Linked DNA regions of Homo sapiens: all the other regions are linked to region 4. Evidence: promoter capture Hi-C in 16 types of primary human blood cells and fetal thymus (Javierre and others, 2016). All regions are on one chromosome and are shown on one strand. Each heading gives the region's core, a stretch centred on a gene start or on the middle of the fragment in contact. The rest is flanking DNA. Distances are from core to core; before and after follow the strand shown.

Region 1 (2,747 bases), core at 19-2,518, 220 kb after region 4:
CAATCATGAGAAAAACATCAGACAAATCCCAACAAGGGGACAGTCTACAAAGTACCTGGCCAGTACTCCCCACGGTCAAGGTCATCAAAAACAAGGAGATTCTAAGAAACTGTCACAGCTCAGAGGAGTCTACGGGGGCGTAACGACTAAATGTCATTTGGGGCTCTCCATGGGATCCCAGAACAGAAAAGGGACATGAAGGGAAAACTGAGGAAATCTGAATAAAGCTTGGCCTTTAATTTTTTTTTTTAAATACAAAAGCAGGATTTAATTGCACACTTAGAGCGGGTGGGGCGCTTGTAATCTGTGTGGCCCCTTGGTGTTCCCTCATCATTCCAGGGACAGCAGCAAATGCCATTATTTGCCCTGTATGTCACGAGGAAACTGAGGCTTAGCTAGGTCCACTAAGTGGCCACAGGGACCACAGGTAGGAATAAGAATAACATCTTTTTGCAGATGCTTATTGAACACTTTCTTGGAGTCAAGAGTGTGGTGCTCTTTGAGTGTATTGTGTTATTAACCCTCATGCCATTCCCATGACACCTGTGCATAGGAGGAATCTGGGACCCAGAGAGGTGGGACGGGATAGGCAGGGTCTGATGAGCAGCTGTGGGTGGTCCTGGTGGGAGCTAAGGAGCAGGCAGCCTGAGGCCAGGGCCCATTCCCAATCACATGTTGTACTGAGCCAGCCACCACGTTAGATTTTAGAGTCTCCTGGAGCACGTGAAAACAACTGAAAAAGGGTAACCACACATCATTTCACTTGTGATGTAGCTTGCCTGTCTCCACACCATGCCCCTGAAGAATAGTATATCACCTACAGCCCCTTCCCCAGTCAGGAATGGAAGTGCATGACACATGTGCTCCTCTACCCCTTCCATGCTCATGGCAGACATCATTAATCAATTATAGCACTCTTTCTGTAGAGCCAGAGACAGCATCACACTCTTTCCCCTCCTGCATTCCAGGCCACCACTACCAACTGAAATCGTGTTAGTACCATAATGAATGCTATGTACCATTCTCTACCCTAAGCGATTGCAAACTGTAAATGAATTGTTGCTGATTTCTGAGCCCCTCCTAGATTTGGGGTAAATTCATTTCTTGTTTTCAGAACACAGGGGATAGGGACACCCTGTGCAGTTCTTTCTCCAGGACAAGGAGACTCCCCACTGGGGGATGGGGCGGGGTTTCTGCCTTAATTTGGGCGCTCATAGTTTCAAGGAGGAGCTCTTTCTGGCTTTGGCCAGCTAGAAGGAAAGGTGCCCTGTTTGTTAACTTTAAAATCACTACGGGTGTAGTGTATGGAGTGGGCTGTGCCATGCTGGAGTTCAGAGCAAAGGTTCTTCAGGTTTTCTTGCGAAGGACCTTAACTTGTCAATGGCAGAGCCACACCCCCGGGACATACTTGGCAGAGGAATGCCTCTTCAGGCACATAAACATTTTTGCATACTCCATGTTAGTCAATAAACCGTTTCATAAGGGTTCTTTGAGGACATCTGACTTCAAAGGGAAAAAATTCATAATTCAGACAGGCTCTCGGGGCTTCACCATACAACGCCTTTCTTGTATTTGGTTAGTTTTATGGGCCTGGAGTGTTGACCATGTATTAATTTTCTCTATAAAAATCAGAACCGCTCTGGGCAGACCCAGAATTTATAGTATCTGTGGCAGTCTGGCAGAGAGTAGGGACCCTCAGCCATGAGTCCTCGCCTCACTTGTAACGAGTACCCCCTAAGTGATCCCAGGTGTCTGGGGATGCTTTAACGCACCCAGATCCCACCTTGCTCTTGGCGCCTCCTAATTACACACCATGAGCGGCGGCGGCAGAGGAGAACTGCTGGGAGGACCGAGGAGGATCCGCCTCTCGTGTAGAAGAACAGACTGTATTAAACAGTGATTATGGCCATGCCAGGCACAGGAAGACCTGACCTCATGGAATCCTAACAACACAGGCGGTGGGCGAGAGAGAGCTTTGACATTTACTCACTGAATGCGCCCTGATGCTTAATGAGTGGCACGGGTCAGCAGCACCGTTGTGGAGCTGGGGCTCTCAGCTGGTGTGGGGGGGGGGTCATGTCTCTGGCTAAGGAGCGTACCTAGCCTGCCTAAGCCATGAGCCTGTTGGGGTGGCATGAACAGTGACTGCTCTTCACCCCAAATGCAGTGTTTCTCCTTAAGGAGGCACTCAGACATTTAGGAAACGGGGGGAACGTAGCCACGGTGCTGTTCTGGGATTTGGGGGCTCCCCCATTCTGGGTGCATCTCTTGCAAATATGTTATGTGCTCCCTTTCACGGATGAGCAAACTGAAGCTTTGAGAGTCTCAAAGAATGTTCTTTACTAGACTGAAATAAAAACTAGAAACAAAAGGAAGCGGTTCTTTAGTATGTTCCTCTGGAGATTCAGTCCAAATAATTCGCCAAACTGCGTTCTGAAGAATGACCATGTATCTCTGTGCCCCCACGCCACTCGGAGTGTTCTTGTGGCAAAGGAGGCGAGAAGACACGGCTGTGGTCCCCAGTGGACCGTCAAGTAACCTAACCTCCAGTTTTCCAAGGGGAGCGTATTTTTCAGAGGCTGCTGGATCCCTCTGTAAATGTTTATTTCCATGGAAATGACCTTGATTATTCAAAAATCTAATAGCTAAGATGACAGTTACCTTAAGTCTCTGTTGAAGCAGTTTACAAAATCATAAAACCCTCGTGGTGGAAGGGGGCTAGAGATCACTTCTGTGGACCCTCATTC
Region 2 (3,031 bases), core at 71-2,570, 140 kb after region 4:
CCGGTGTAACTCCAAGCACTGTAGCCTGCCACGCAAGGCTCTCTGTAATCGAGATTTAATCAGTTTTTATGACTCACCTCCTTCAACTTCTCTCTCTCTGCCCAATAAACTCCTATTCATCCTTCAAAGCCCAACTCAAACATCGCATACTCTCTGAAGTATTCGTCCCACTTTCCCTCGGGCTCCTCTGCCTCCACACCTGCACACATACACATGGAATTCTACTAATGTGTAGACATCTGACTCCCCACTCAACTGTGGAGTCCTTAAGGAAGGGGTTCTGGACTATGTCACACAGATGTTAGACAAATGAACCGAGGGGGCATTTGCATGGGTGCTTAAAGTGAGGTAAAGGAGAGAAGAAAGTAGAGAACTCAAAGAGGAGAGCTCGCTGGATTCAAATCTGGGGTGTTCCGGAATTCTAGGTATTCACCTAAGTCTGTTGGGACCCATGAGCTGTTTTCCCAATTTAGAAAAGTAAAGAACAGGCTACATGAGATGAAATCTGTGTGGTTGGTTTTTGTTTTTGATGCAGTGTGTGCAGTGTGATTCCCTAATAGCAGTTAACTGGTATTGATTTGAAACAGAAATGCAGAAGGGCAGGGAGTCAGAGGTGTTTATACAGGAGAAAGGGAACCTGCATGACTCATTACCACGGGGCAGGGTCTAGGGGAGCGCACTGGACACTGGAGCCAGCTTTACAGCTGGGGTCCACTCTGATGGGGCCGCCCATTCCTGGGCTGTACCAGCGATTAAACATTTGAAACACCACCTCTGCTCATTATATGATGAGTATGTTTGGTAGGCAGAATTTTGAAAGGTGGAGTGCTGTGGGTGGAATCGATGAGGCGGTCAGTCTGTGTCTGTGCCATATGTACTCGGGGGCCTGTGACCCAGTGGGGGGCCGGTTTCACCTCTGTTCAGCCAGAGCCACCACAAAGTCCTTGCTTCCCCAGCTGCTGCACAGATTGCGCAGATCATCATCCCCATCACGGTAAAGCTTTGAGGTGGGTGTTCTTCTCATTCCCATTTTACCAATGAAAAAACCAAAGGTGCTAGAGATGAAGTGGCCGCCAAAGGCCACCCAATGGGTGAGCTACAGCGCTGGAGTGGGAATCTCAGCCGTCTCTGCTCCATCTTCCAGAACTTTCCTCTACTGCTCCTGACTTCCTGAAGTGACCAAACCTGTCTCTCCCTCCTCCCCTGACTTCAGGGAGCAGATTTTTCATGGTGATTTTAGAGAGCACACGTTGATCCCCTCCTGAGGGTGAGAGCCTCAGATGTTTTGGGCCTGACTGTCCAGCCTCCTGGAGAAAGGTGGCCAGGTCCGTGTGTGGACAGCCAGTGTGCGGGTGCATGAGTCAAGCTCCCTTGTCACATATCCTGGAAACCCTCCATGGAAGCCTGCAGCCCCCAGGCCAGCGCTGAGGCAGGAACGGTCAGGGATTTCCCACTTGAAACACACCGTCTAAGGCTGCCGGCTCTTGCTTCCCCAGGAACTACTGCATTTGTCTTGATATTATACCCTGCCTGCCTCCAAGAGGACCGAGGCTTTTCAGAGCTGAGACACTGTGTGGAAGGAGGCAATTAGGATCAAACAGAACGAGACCCTCCGGATCCCCAGGGCTGGGCCGATCACCCCAAGCTTTGTTTGGCCGTCTCGGAGCTCTCTGTTGAGGTAGCAGAAAGGGAAAGACGGCTTGCATAGTTTTTGTTTTTTGGCCAGAAAAAGTACCCAAGTCTGTCTTTCAAAGTAGATGCCTTTCTTCTCTCTCTCTTTTTCCCCAGTCCCAGATTAAACCTCTTTTTAAGAGATTTGGGGGAGACTTGTCCCTTCCAGTTGATTCTCTGAAGGCAGAAGTTTTCTCTTTAAATCTGGAGCCACGCTTGTCAGGTGTGGTCCCGGTGTGCCACCGTCCATTGACCTCGTTTACGGGCAGGGTGCTGTACCTTGGGAGGCGCTGAGCAGTAGCCCCAGTGCTTCTCCAGCATTGTCGGTGTGACAATTACATCATTACCTACTTCTTCTGAAATGACATGGCCATGGCTTCAGTAATTGCCAAAACCCAACATCCTCGTTCTCTGTTATCTGCTTGGTTTGCTTTTCACCTACGCTTATCATCACTTAACATCCTGTGTATTTCACTTATTTGTCTTTTCTGTCTGTCTCCCCCAGCATGCAGGAGACCCTGTGAAAGCCGGTGTGCTGTTTAGTCGTGGGGCACAGCAGGCCCTCTGTGCTGTACACGCTGACATTCATTGAGCACTTACCATGAGCCAGACGTGGGCCTCCCGTCGTCTTCCTGTGGCCCTGTCTCCTGGCCTCTATCACTCCCATTTCACAGATGAGGAGACCGAGGTTCATAAAGCCCAACTGGCTCTCTAGCTGGGAGTCTCACAGCCTGTAAGAGGCAGAGCTGAGATATAAAGTCAGGTTTTCTGTTCTCAAAGCTGTGTTCTTTACCATTACAACTTGAGAAAAATGTATGAAAGGCCATAAACATATTCCGGTGCTCAGAATATTGTATTGCTTTTTTTTTTTCCTTTTCTTTCTTTGTTTTTCTTTTCTTTTTGAGGCAGTGTGTCACCCTGTGGTCCAGGCTGCTGCAGTGCAGTGGCGTGATCTCGGCTCACTGCAACCACTGCCTCCTTGATTCAAGCGATTCTCCTGCGTCAGCTTCCCAAGTAGCTGGGACTACAGGCGTGCACCACCACACCCGGGTAATTTTTCTGTTTTTAGTAGAGACGGGGTTTCTCCATGTTACCCTGGCTGGTCTCGAACTCCTGGGGTCAAGTGATCCATCCTTCTTTGCCTCCCAAAATGATGGGATTACAGGCATGAGCCACCACACCTGGCCTTGTCTTGCTTTTCAACAAATTTATATTCATGACAATAGTAACTACCTATATTAGAAGCACAGTAGAAACATATATGCAGACTTGTGTTTTTTTTTTTTTTTTCCACCCTATGGCGAGTGCTTATGGGCAGGGCCAGGTCTCGCACCCCATGGCAGCCAGCCTGGCCCATGCC
Region 3 (2,980 bases), core at 1-2,500, 180 kb after region 4:
GAGCTGGAGCTCCTGGTGCCTCTCCACCTTCTCGCTTCCTGAGAGGGGTTCCTCAGGCCGAGGCACACTAGTCCTGGAAACCAAGATGGTTTTTCCCCAGGGGAAGTGAGGTCACTCAGAACAGCCCCAGGGGCCAAGCCCCAGAGCCGGGGACCAATGAGCAGACTGTGTGTCACAAGAAGCTGGCCTGTATTCCTGTCCCAGGGCTGCCAGGGCCAGAGGAGTGCCCTTGGCTCTGGGAAAATCCCAGCCCAGCTTTGGATCCTTTCTGGCTGCCTGCCCTGGCCACGCTGCCTTCTTCTTGCTGGGCAGGTTTCCCAGCCCCCTAGGGTGGCCACAGCCCCTCGATCACCGCATCCAGGCCCAGGCCTCTGTCCCTCCTCTGTGGAGAAAGGTGGAAAAGAATGTGGGGTGTGTGAGTGTGAGAGTGAGTGTGTGTGCGCGTGAGAATGTGTGTAAGAGTGAATGTGTGAGTGTGTGTGAGAGCGAGAGTGACTGAGTGTGACTGTGTGTTGTGTGGGGTGACTATTTTATGAGTGTGGTGAGGTGACTGGTGTGTCTGTGTGTGGTGTGTGAGGTGACTGTTTTGAGTATGTGTGGTGACTATTTTATGAGTGTGTGTGGCGTGTGGGGTGACTATGAGTGTGTGTGGGGTGTGGGATGACTATCTTATGAGTGTGTGTGTGTATGTGTGGCATGTGGGGTGACTTTTATGAATGTGTGGGGTGACTGAGCATGTGTGTGTGTGGTGTGTGGGGTGACTATGGGTGTGCATGTGTGTGTGGTGTGTGGGTGGCTTATGAGTGTGTGAGTGGTGTGTGGGGTGACGGTGTGCGTGTGTGTGTGGTGTGTGGGTGGCTTATGAGTGTGTGTGTGTGGTGTGTGGGGTGACTATTTGTGTGTATATGTGGCATGTGGGGTCATTTGTATGAGGGTGTGTGGTGTGGGGAGATTATTTTATGACAGTGGGTGTGGGTGTGTGTGTGGTGTGTGGAGTGACAGAGAGAGAGAGAGTGTGTGTGTGTGTGTGTGTGTGTGTGTGGGGTGCATATGGGGTGACTATTTTATGAGTGTGTGTGTGTGTCCTGTGGGGTAACTATTTTATGTGTGTGTGTGTGGCCTGTGGGGTGACTATTTTATGTGTGTGTTTGTGTATGTGTGGTGTGTGGGGGTGACTGAGTGTGTGTGTGGCATATGGGGCGACTATTTTATGAATGTGTGTGTGTGTGGCCTGTAGGGTGACTGTTTTATGAGTATGTGTGCATGGCATGTGAGGTGACTGTTTTATGTGTGTGTTTGTGTATGTGTGGTGTGTGGGGGTGACTGTGAGAGTGTGTGTGTGGTGTGTGTGTGGCATATGGGCCAACTATTTTATGAATGTGTGTGTGTGTGGCCTGTAGGGTGACTATTTTATGAGTGTGTGTGTGTGGCATGTGGGATGACTGTTTTATGTGTGTGTGAGTGTGTGTGTGGCCTGTGGGGATACTATGAGTATGCTGGTTTGGAGTGTGTTTCTTTGGGCCTCAGTTTTCTCCTCTGTGGAATGGGGATGATCATGGCGTCTCGTCACTGGGCCGTGTGAGGATCGAAGGCTGTGTTGTTTGTGCAGCAGGCAGAAGGGATCCTGGTAGGAGCCCACGCGTGGGAGCCTCTCATGCGCCATCATCAGTGTCTCCAAGTGGGTCCGACATGGTGGGAGCAGCTGGCTCGGCCTGTCTCCCTGGCAGCCCCTTCCAGCCTCCACAGGTGGTCCCGGCTGACTCATGGCCTGGGAGGGCTAGGGTGGGTGGGAAGCCCGCCCTCGAGACTGTCTCTGCCCGGCTCTGGCCACGGAGTGTCCCCTGTGTCCAGCACTATGTGCCCCTGTGCTCCTGAGTCCGGAAACAGTTCTGTGGGGTCCACATCCCTCCCCCATCTCATAGCAGAGGGGACTGAGCGTCCAAGTGGATAAAGGATGAGGATAAAGGACCGTGCCAAAGCCAGATGCCTCCCAGCGAGGGTCACAATCTCGCTTCCACCTCATGAGTGGCTGCGGCGCCTCGGGAATGAGTCTGTTCCATGTTCTGTGTTGGGAGCTGGCGCTGGGGGACCACAACCCTCAAAGTCCCCAGCACCAAGGCAAAGTGCCTGGGGCTCAGAGAGGGGAAGCCCACCTGACGGGAAGCTGAGGGCAGGGCCTGGGTCATGTCCCCACTGGCTGCACCCTCAGGAGGGCGGGATCCATCACCCTCATCCCCATGCAGGGGAAAGGCCCAGGGGACCAGGTCAGAATGACACAGAGCCCTTGAGCTGATGCCTCCCCTGACCCCTCACTGAGGGCCATGCTAGAAGGGGGGATCCCTACAAAAGGGGAAATCCTGAGGCTCTGGACCGGGCCTCCAGTAGGGGCTGTCACCCCTGGCTCTGACCTTGCTCCCGGAGCCCACCTCCCCTGGGTCGCCTCCTGGTCATGGGAGCCTCCCTGGGGAAGAGCCACTCCTAGTGTCCTAGAGATGTGGCCCCAGGCGCTTTCTCCACCAGGCTGCAAATCCCTTCCCAAGCTCACATCCCCCAAGTCGTCATCCAGCCCAAGCCGAGCCCCCAGTTGCACCCCAAGGCCTTAGCACAAGGCTGCAGCTGGTCCTCGAGCCATGATGGACACTTAACTCCTGTCCCATGCATGTGCCAGTGCCTCACTTACTCACCTTGGTGAATCCTTACAGCCCTGAGGAGGTGCCTGTTCCTCCTCTTCTCCCTTTTTACTGATGTGGAAACTGAGGCTGAGGTTAAATCACTCACTCAAGGTCACACAGCTGTTCAATGGCTTAGATGGGATTTGAACAGAAGTCTGAGTGAGTCCAGAACCTGGGACTTCAGCCACCGGGAGTGTGGCTCCCAACTGTACATGCATGCATGTACACAGACACACGCTACCCAGACACTTCTCACACCTGATGTGCACTTGGGAGCAGTGCCCCGGCTCCCACCTGTTCTCGTGGCA
Region 4 (2,899 bases), core at 19-2,518:
CCCTGGCCAGGCTCGGGGAGAGGGTCCTCTGGGGAGCACCTTCATGCTGCCTGTTCTTGGGAGAGGGGGGGTGAATAATTTCCACCAACGGCACAGATGCTGTGGATATTCCGCAGTGTTCACGACGCAGTTCAACACACGCTGCACACATTCATGTGTTCACTACAGAGGCGCCTTCACTTAAAAAGGCAAAAATCTAGGGTTTTAACGTTATTAGCTGCAGGAGCACGTGGAGATAAGAAAACCTGGCTGAGGAGCTGAGCATTTGCTAGGTGGCCTTAGGTGCCGGCTGCTTGTGATGGCAGAAAGGGAGCTTTTTGCATCCAGGCTGCAGTTCCTGATACCCTGGGTCACAAGAGAATCGAATATGGTTCTCTCGTGGGCTGGTGCTGGGCCTGTGAACTCAGATAAAATGACCAGGTGGGGTCCCAGGGAAGGTGAAGTAGGGGGAGCTGCTGGGGTGCGCACAAGAGGGGTGGCTGTGTAGGTTGGGGGGTGCTTTAAGTGGGTTCCTAGAAGAGGCTCTGTCTCCCTGGGCAGAAGAAAGAAGGGGGATGGGCGGACCGTCCCCTCTCTCCAGAAGGTTTGAGGACCCCCAAGGCCAAAGCCAGCAGACGTCAAAGGCCAGGAGTTCGAGGCCGGCTGGGTCCCGCAGTGGGAGACAGGGCAGGGTGGGCTCATCCTCCGGATCACCGCGGGGACACTTTCAGTCGGGAAGGCGTCCCCGTCCCACGGCCCCATCTGGCCAGCCCGCTGGACAGCCTGGACAGCGGAGGGGGCGTCAGGGGTCGAGGGTTCCAGTCCCCGTCCTTCCACCCAGCCCCCGGCCCTCGGGTATCCTTCTTTACCCGTCCGAGTCCGGCCCGGGGGCGGCGGGGGTGGGTGAGGCGCGGGCCCCCAGGCTCCGGCAGCCTGGCTGGGCTCCCGCCCGGGCACCCGCGGGGGCGCGGCTGGCGTGACGTCACGCGCCCCGCCCCCGCGCCCCGCCCCCTCCCCACATTCCAGGCGGGGCGGGCCGGGACCCCGCGGGGCTCGCCCGCCCCAGCCCCCTCCCCAGGGGCTGCCCCTCCCGTCGGGCCGCGCCTCCCCGTCGTGGGCCGCGACCCCGCCCGGACCGCGGACTCCGCCCGCGAGAGGCCGAAGCCGCCGCGGCCGCCGCCGTTGCCGCCATTGACGTCAGAGGGGCGGGCACATGACCCTGCGGGGACCAATCGCGCGGGCGCCCCGGGCTCCGGGAGCCCGGCGCGCGGCCCGCCCCGCCCGCGGCCACTCTCGCCCGGACGGCCGCGCGGACACACGCTCTGTACACACGCGCGCGGCGGCGCGGGGCCCCGAGACACGCCCGCCCCCACCCCGCCGCCCCCACCCCGGCGCCCGCCCTCCGCGCCTGGCCCCGGCCCGCCCTCGGCCTCCCCCGCCCCTCCCCGTCGCCCGCCGAGCCCGGTCAGCCGCCGCGAGCATGCACCCGACGAGCTAGGAGGAAGCCCGGAGCCCCGCAGGAAGCGCCGAGGCCGGCCCAGCCCGCCGCACGCGCCGCCCCCCGCGGGCAGCGCCCCCTCCCCTGCGGGCGCCCCCAGCCCCACACCCCCCCACCTTCCCGGGGGGTGGGGGGGTGCGGGCCGCCGGATCCGGGGGCCCCGCCGCCCCAGCAGCCCAGGACAGCCCCCTCTCCCCGCCCCCAGCCCCCTCCCCCGGCGCGGCCATGGATGTGACCAGCAGCTCGGGCGGCGGCGGCGACCCCCGGCAGATCGAGGAGACCAAGCCGCTGCTGGGGGGCGACGTGTCGGCCCCCGAAGGCACGAAGATGGGCGCCGTGCCCTGCCGCCGGGCTCTTCTGCTTTGCAACGGGATGAGGTACAAACTGCTGCAGGAGGGCGACATTCAGGTCTGTGTCATCCGGCACCCGCGGACCTTTCTCAGCAAGATCCTCACCTCGAAATTCCTGAGGCGCTGGGAGCCGCACCACCTAACGCTGGCCGACAACAGCCTGGCGTCCGCCACGGTGAGTGGCTCTGCGCGGCTGCACCCCCGCCTCTCCTCGGGGCCCGAGATGCGCCCTCCCTGGCTGCCCCCTGGCGCTGCACCTGGAGCCCAGGGCCTGGGGGGCGGTGGGGGGTGCCGGGGGAACGGGGAGAACCAGGGCGCCTCGCTCCTGGCCTGCTCGCGGGGCTCGATTTTGGAGTCTGAAGCCCAAACCAGCCGACCGGGCTCAGGAGAGACCCTTAAAATGCTGGAGACTCGGCCCACCGCCAGGCTGGGTGCCTGGGGACCTTCTGCCCCCAGCTCTTGTGTTTCTGGTGGCTGGGACTCGAGGATGGACCCGACGCTGGGCCCTGATGGTGGTGGGGGTTCTCTCTGGAAGCCCCTGGCCCATCTGGATCTGAGGGGTGGGGGAGGGGAAAACAAAATACCACCCCTCAGATTTAAAAAAAAAAACAAACAACACAACAAAACCTCCAAACCCCCAAACCCAAAGAATTTCCAGAAGCCAGTTTCTCTGTTTGGTTTACCCGTCCTTTATTCTCTTTCCTGCCAGGGCTGGCAGGCAGAACGGGGTGCTTCCCTTTCTGAAAATCTCATTCGCACATTGAGAGGTTGGAAGTGGAGGGGGAGGGGGCAGTGGTCCTGGAATATCTCAGGACCCAGCGGTGGTCGAGTTCTAGCCTAGAAGCTGCTTGGTGGAGCCCTGGTCCGGCATTGTCTGTAGAGTGTGTGTATACGTGTGTGTTTTGTTGCTGGAGGTTTAATTTTGTTATTGTTTTTAAATACATGGGTAGGACTGGGTCAGCTGGATGAGTCGGAGAGGAAAAACCATTGATCTGTTTCTGAAATCAGATCTGCAAATGGTGGCCTTCTTCGTACGTGGAGAAAGACAGCTGTGGTGGGGTCGAGGGGAGAG

The links. Contacts are between HindIII fragments. The CHiCAGO score rates a contact against its expected background, and 5 or more counts as called.
Region 1: a fragment that was not itself captured here is called in contact with the fragment with the promoter of CMIP in region 4 in 16 of 17 cell types (naive B cells, total B cells, neutrophils and 13 more); the score reaches 18.5 in naive B cells.
Region 2: a fragment that was not itself captured here is called in contact with the fragment with the promoter of CMIP in region 4 in 16 of 17 cell types (erythroblasts, megakaryocytes, neutrophils and 13 more); the score reaches 18.2 in erythroblasts.
Region 3: a fragment that was not itself captured here is called in contact with the fragment with the promoter of CMIP in region 4 in 17 of 17 cell types (naive B cells, naive CD8 T cells, total B cells and 14 more); the score reaches 17.4 in naive B cells.

What each region holds. Positions count from the first base shown.
Region 1 is chr16:81,664,906-81,667,652 of GRCh38, forward strand. All of the region lies in intron 7 of CMIP (c-Maf inducing protein), which reads left to right. LOC100129617 (a long non-coding RNA gene) reads left to right here and starts at 449. Exons shown (of 1, transcript NR_045112.1): 1 at 449-2,371. The HindIII fragment of the contact is 2,087 bases long and covers 226-2,312 here.
Region 2 is chr16:81,586,539-81,589,569 of GRCh38, forward strand. The region is part of intron 1 of CMIP (c-Maf inducing protein); the gene reads left to right. Among named protein-coding and RNA genes, the nearest start is that of MIR6504, 23 kb to the right of the region's middle. The HindIII fragment of the contact is 645 bases long and covers 999-1,643 here.
Region 3 is chr16:81,625,776-81,628,755 of GRCh38, forward strand. The region is part of intron 3 of CMIP (c-Maf inducing protein); the gene reads left to right. Among named protein-coding and RNA genes, the nearest start is that of MIR6504, 16 kb to the left of the region's middle. RefSeq lists enhancers at 237-426, 1,608-2,229. The HindIII fragment of the contact is 7,087 bases long and covers 1-2,980 here.
Region 4 is chr16:81,443,540-81,446,438 of GRCh38, forward strand. CMIP (c-Maf inducing protein) reads left to right here and starts at 1,269. Exons shown (of 21, transcript NM_198390.3): 1 at 1,269-2,002. The coding sequence starts at 1,703. RefSeq lists enhancers at 110-642, 2,807-2,899 and silencers at 852-951, 1,062-1,411, 1,482-1,531, 1,962-2,261. The HindIII fragment of the contact is 9,361 bases long and covers 1-2,899 here.